Regions from separate parts of the Homo sapiens genome. Here region 1 is linked to region 2. The links are contacts of gene promoters, found by promoter capture Hi-C in human tissues and cell types (Jung and others, 2019). All regions are on one chromosome and are shown on one strand. Each heading gives the region's core, a stretch centred on a gene start or on the middle of the fragment in contact. The rest is flanking DNA. Distances are from core to core; before and after follow the strand shown. Region 1 overlaps EFCAB6 (EF-hand calcium binding domain 6). Region 2 holds the start of SULT4A1 (sulfotransferase family 4A member 1).

What was found. Contacts are between HindIII fragments. The study calls those that stand out against the background at their distance.
Region 1: a contact is called between a fragment that was not itself captured here and the fragment with the promoter of SULT4A1 in region 2, in 2 of the 25 tissues and cell types used here (dorsolateral prefrontal cortex and liver).

The regions. Positions count from the first base shown.
Region 1 is chr22:43,627,993-43,631,028 of GRCh38, reverse strand. The region is part of intron 19 of EFCAB6 (EF-hand calcium binding domain 6); the gene reads left to right. Among named protein-coding and RNA genes, the nearest start is that of EFCAB6-AS1, 110 kb to the right of the region's middle. The HindIII fragment of the contact is 3,448 bases long and covers 1-3,036 here.
Region 2 is chr22:43,860,875-43,863,863 of GRCh38, reverse strand. SULT4A1 (sulfotransferase family 4A member 1) reads left to right here and starts at 1,351. Exons shown (of 7, transcript NM_014351.4): 1 at 1,351-1,650. The coding sequence starts at 1,482. The HindIII fragment of the contact is 9,350 bases long and covers 1-2,989 here.

The sequences.
Region 1 (3,036 bases), core at 217-2,716, 230 kb after region 2:
GTTACCAGGCTCCCGTTTCCACATGCCCGTGTATTTATGACATCAGTCCAGCTTAGACTTTCTAGCAGGGCTCAGATTTTGAACATTCTGTCCAGTTTTCAGAATGTGCATCCTAATTTTTGGTTTGAAAAAATATGATCGCCATATGCATACATGGAGACGGATTGGTCCTAATGATCTCATCCAGGCTAAGTGGCCAGCCAAGAGGAGCACTCTGGGAACCACTGGCCTGTGGGCTCCAGCGTGGAGGAGGCAGGGGTCATTTAAGTGGGGAGTGCCTGGTCCTCCAAAGGAGAGCCGAGCTGGGTGGGAGGCAGCGGCCGCTGCAGGGAGAGAGAGCAGAACGGAGGCAAAGGCTCCAGGAGCAGACTCCCTTCTGTGCTGGTCGGCAGGGCCTCCACGGGCACCCTAACTGTAGAGGCCTGGCAGCTGCCTCACTGCACCTTGCCCATTGCAATGCAGGCCCCTCCCTGTTCCCTCTCTCAGACTCTCTCCTCTCTTCCTCACACACTCCTCGCGTCTCCCAGTGGAGGCCGTGGGAAGCCCAGCTCCACGCTACATCGTTGCTTTCCTATCTTTACGATCAGTGAAGCTTGGCTACAGCCAACGTATATCCTGTGTTTTCCAAAGAGATCTCTATTTTAAATAATGAATTCATTCAACAGACCATCACCGACACCCACTCTATCCCGCCAGAGAATTTATCAACTAGTGGGTGAAACAGAGGAGTGAACCCCTAATTGCCAGTTTTTATGTGAGACAGACTGGATGCGGGTTATGTCCGGGGCTCGTGAGGACTTGGCTTGTGTCCTTGCAGGTATACGCAAAGTGGACAAAGCACGGGTCTCAATTTTTTAATGGGATGGTACAGTCACTTTTTTTGAATTTTTTTGGTAGAGACGAAGTCTTGCTACGTTGCCCAGGCTGGTCTCAGACTCCTGGGCTCAAGCGATCCTCCGACCTCAGCCTCCCAAAGTGCTGGGATTACAGGCATGAGCCACTGTCCCTGGCCTCATATATCTTTTAGAAACAAATAGGATTAACCTGTCAACCCACAAATAGGGTCACAGTACACTCAGTTCTCTGCAACTTCACTTTGCACTTCACAATTCGTCTTGGACTCCTGGCCCTCGCAGGATTGTCTCATCCATGTGCATCTCTGACCGGAGTGCCCACTGTGCTCTCAGGATACATCCTGCTCCCGCCTGGCCGGCCCACAAGACCCCTCACCCCCTCACCCTTTCCTGCCTCTAAGCGTTTGCACATTCTGTTCCTTTGCTTGGATGGCGCCTCCCCTTTGACCAGTGGACTCCTCCCCAAGCTTCTGTCCTTCTCAAGCCCTTCACATCAGCTGAGAGGTTGCCACTGCACATTCCCCTCTCTCCTCACGTCCCTCATAGCACACAGCCCGCAGGGTGCTGCAGTTAGATTCAACAGTGAGCCCCGAGCCATTTCTACATCATTCACCACAGTAACCCAAGGGGCTGCCACAGTGCCTGCCACAATGCACATGACCGATTTGTATTTGCTGATTGAACACACCACACCTGATGCTGGGCAGCGAACTGGAGGGCCACACACAGGGCCTTGTGTGTTCTGACACCCGCAACCACCCTGTCAAGTAGGTTTAATGTTCCCGTGTTATGCTGGATACCCTGAGGGTCAGAGACGGGGAAAAAGTGACACAAAGCCACACCTCTAGTACATGGCACCGTCAGGAACTGAAATAACACCGGCTCGATTCCAAAGCCTCTGTACTACGCACTAACATTGGGGAAGCTGAAGACTGAGATTTGAGGAATGATTAGTTTATAAACTTGTGAAGATTAGCCATGTATGATCTCATAGCATCTAGCTTGTCCCTGGAGTCCAGAATCCAGGCTGGCCCCACCTGGCCCTCACACCTCTGTCCCTGCAGTAATCACGCTGGATTGCCATGATTTGCTTCCTGTCTTGCTTCCCTAGTAGATAGACAGTGAGGACCTGGGTGTCAGGGCCCACGTTGCAGTTATGGTGTCTGTGTACCCAGCAGAGTGCTTTGTGCCTAGGAAATGCTGCTCCTTCATGTCCAGCAGCCCCATCTCACAGACGTTATGGTGAGCATGGCTCGGAGAGCTGGAGCTGCAACAGGGAACAGATCAGAGCCCAGACTCATGCTTATGTTCTAGGGGGAAGTGCAGTGGACACAGAAACCTCTACTAGATCAGGTGGTGACATGTGCCAAAGAGAAAAGTAGAGGATCGTGGGAGGCCAGTCAGGGCTGGTGCCATTGTACAGAGGAGTCAGGAAGTGCCTCTCTGGAGAGGGGACACTCAGACACAGTCATGAAGGAGCCAGAGTGAGCCCTGCGGACACTGGAGAGGGCTCCCTGCGATACCCTGAAGCAGGCTCGGCCTGTTCAGAGAACAGTGAGGGGACGGGTGGGATGGGGGTGTAGACAGGCTTGTGGGCCACGGCCAGGCCTTGGCCTTGGACTCTGAGTGAGAAGGAGAGTCAAGGGGGTTGAGCAGAGGCGCCTCATGCATGACGTCAGCTGTAAGGGATCGCTCGGGAGCGATTGCACAGAGCAGAGGCCACGGAGCCGACGATGGCAGCTGGGAGCCATCACGAGGTTCCTGCAGGACTCCAGCGACCTTGGGTGGGGGCCGAGGTGGTGTGCCTGGGAGAGGGGGTCCAGTGCTAATGCACTCTGAAGGGAGAGCCAGCGGGATGTGTGGGCAGACTGGATGTGGGTGTGAGAGGAAGCGAGGGCTCAGAAGGGCTCCCAGGTTTGTGTCTGAGCAACCAGGAGGAAAGAGCTCCACTTACTGAGATGGGAAGACTTAGGAGGAGTAGGGTGGGGACAGGGGGTGGAGGTCAGGAGTTTGATTTGGGCCATGTTCAGTTTGACATCCCAGAGAAAATGCCCCCAGACCACTGGAGATGTGAGGCTGTGGGTCAGGGGGGTGGCGGCTTGGGGCTGAGAGTATAGAGGGAATCATCAAGAAACAGATGGGCCTGCACCCCAGGAGGCCCCCTCGGGCAGAGTTAGACATC
Region 2 (2,989 bases), core at 102-2,601:
TCCTTTACACAGCTGATGATGCTCGGCTGCAGAGAATGAGAGCAGGCTGTGTTGTTTTCATCTTTGTGCTTCCCCAGGCATGTTAGTAGGTGCTTCATATATGTCTGTTGAGTGCATGACTGGCAAGGGGTTGCACTGAGATCTCTAGAACTCGGTTGCTCTCAAATTATAGTTTGCACAAGAAGTGCCTTACTAAATGTATATTTTTGTAATTTTTCTCCATAGATCTGGGGTCCTGGAATTTGCAATCCAACACTCCCCTCCCCTACTCATGGGATATTAAGAAGCACTTTTTGGCTGGGCGAGGTGGTTCACACCTGTAATCCCAGCACTTTGGGAGGCCAAGGTGGGCAGATCACGAGGTCAGGAGATTGAGACCATCCTGGCTAACACGATGAAACCCCGTCTCTACTAAAACAAACAAACAAAAAATACAAAAAATTAGCCAGGCATGGTGGCATGTGCCTGTAGTCCCAGCTACTCGGGAGGCTGAGCCAGGAGAATGGCGTAAACCCGGGAGGTGGAGCTTGCAGTGAGCTGAGATCGCGCCCCTGCACTCCAGCCTGGGCGACACAGCGAGACTCCATCTCAAAAAAAAAAAAAAAAAAAAAAAAGCAAAAAAAAAGCACTTTGTTTTTTTGGCTGGACTAGGTGGCCCATACTTTTTTTTTGTTGTTGTTAGAAGATCTCGTCCTGTTGCCCAGACTGGAGTGCAGTGGTGCAAGCTCACAGCTCACTGCTAATTTTTTTTTTTGTATGTTTGTAGAGATGCGGTTTCACCATTTACCCAGGTTGGTCTCGAACTCTTGACCTCAGGAGATCCGCCCGTGCTCGACCTCTCAAAGTGCTGAGATTACAGGCGTGATCCACCGCGCCTGGCGAAGACGCATATTTTTAATAGGACCTAATATTTACCTGAAATTATCTTGGTTATTTACCAATGTAAGCTCCAACAGGGCCAGGCTTCTGCTTGCTTCTACCCTGACGCGTGTCGGGGCCCTGGCCCAGTGCCTGGCACAGATCAGCAGCGCGCTAAGCACGTGTTGAATGGACGACTACCTTTCAGGGCCTTCCAGCCAGGGTATCTCATGCGTCTGTGTTGAGCGCTTGCTGAGTGACAGAAGCTATGAGCGGAATGAACGCACGCACGACTGAGGAGGCTGCAGACCGCGGGCCAGGGTCTCTGTCAGCCCCGGCAGCGGGTGGGTGACCCCGGCCGGGGGCGGGGCGGGGAGGACGCGGCTCCGCGGCGCCATGACGTCACGCCCGTGCAGCGCCGCGGCCGCGTGCCGGGCGGCGCCATGACGTCATACCCGCGGAGCCTCCGCCGCGCGTCGGCGGCGCCATGACGTCACGCCTGCGGAGCTGCCGCCGCGCGCCGGTGGGGCGCGAGCGTGTGCGGGGCGCGGGCGCGGGCGCGGGCGCGGGCGCGTGCGGGCTGCGAGCCGGGAGGCGGCGGCGGCGACGGCGACGGCGGCGGCATGGCGGAGAGCGAGGCCGAGACCCCCAGCACCCCGGGGGAGTTCGAGAGCAAGTACTTCGAGTTCCATGGCGTGCGGCTGCCGCCCTTCTGCCGCGGGAAGATGGAGGAGATCGCCAACTTCCCGGTGCGGCCCAGCGACGTGTGGATCGTCACCTACCCCAAGTCCGGTGAGCCCCGCGCCGACCGCGCCCGCCACGCCATGCCCCAGCCCTGCAGCGCGGCCGCGTAGACGCCGCGCCCGCGCCCGGGGCTTCTGCTGGGCCGGGTGGTCGCCCTTGGCCTCCGCCCCTGCCGTGCCCACCGCTCTCCCGATGCTCGGATCCCTGCGGGGCGGGGTGGGGTGGGGTGGGGGTGGGAAGGGGCTTGGTTCTCATCTGGGGAAACCAAGGTCAGAGACCTTCGGGAGCGGCCCCTTCCGTGGAGATGGAGCCTATTTGGCCGGCGCTGCAGGAGGATGGGCCCAGGGCCGCCACCCATCCCTGCTTCTCCCTTTACCTGGCTGGCTGTGTGACCTTGGACAGGTCACTCAACCTCTCTGTTCCTGAATCCTGCCCAACCTTTGATGAGTGCAAAGTCCTGGTGTTCACCTGGGAAGGGAGATAACATGGGCGTCAGGGCTTTCAGCGTGGAAACGTAACGTCCCTCCTTTCCAGCCTGGGCTCCGGGTGGGGGATGGGACCAGTCCCCGCCTGGAGTGCCTTGCTTGTACATTCTCTTGTTTCAGGGCTGCCTCCATCACCGAGGCAGGACCTGGGGCATTCACATTTCCCAGCATTAGCTGACGTCACTTTCACAATAACAGCTGTGTGAGCTAGTGGTGGTCATTCCCACTTTACAGTCTAGGCACAGAGGCTCAGAGAGGGGAAGAGGCTGGTCCAAGGTCACTCAGCTGGTGAGTGGCTGACCTGGGAATTAAAGCTAGGCTGGTCTGTTTCCAGACCTGAGGTAGGAGATTGTATAGTACCCCATCTGAGGTTTTTAGGGAAAGGAGGTAGCAGCTTTCCTGTTCTGTAAACATGCCCTGGGATTTCCTTGTTGCCACTGTATTTGAGGCAATCACAGCGTGGTTTAGAAGGTGTCTGGCTCTAAGGTCACGCCGGACCAGCAGTCGGGCAGTTTCAGGAAAAGCTGTAGGCTTGGCTGTTGTAGCTGTATGGAGTTCCAGACACCTGAGGGCAGGTCTCTGACATTCTTCTGAGGAAGATTGGAGTAGGGACTCTCAGTGGAGGGTGTTGGTTGGAGAACAGAGCGTTCGATGGGCTGCTATCTTGAGCACATGCCAGTCGCCGCATGGGGTGGGACCTAAAATGCTTTAGGAATGGCTAAGCGTGTCGTTGGCTTCTGTGGCCACTCATTAAGTCCTGCGGGCCAAGTGCTCTATCGCTGTTAATCTGTGAGGGACTCTTACACCTTTTTTTCAGAGGCTCAGAGAAGGCACAAATTGTTCGGAGTCACACAGTTGCTGAGGGACAGAGGTCAGGTCTAGCTAGGTCTCCCGGTCCACGG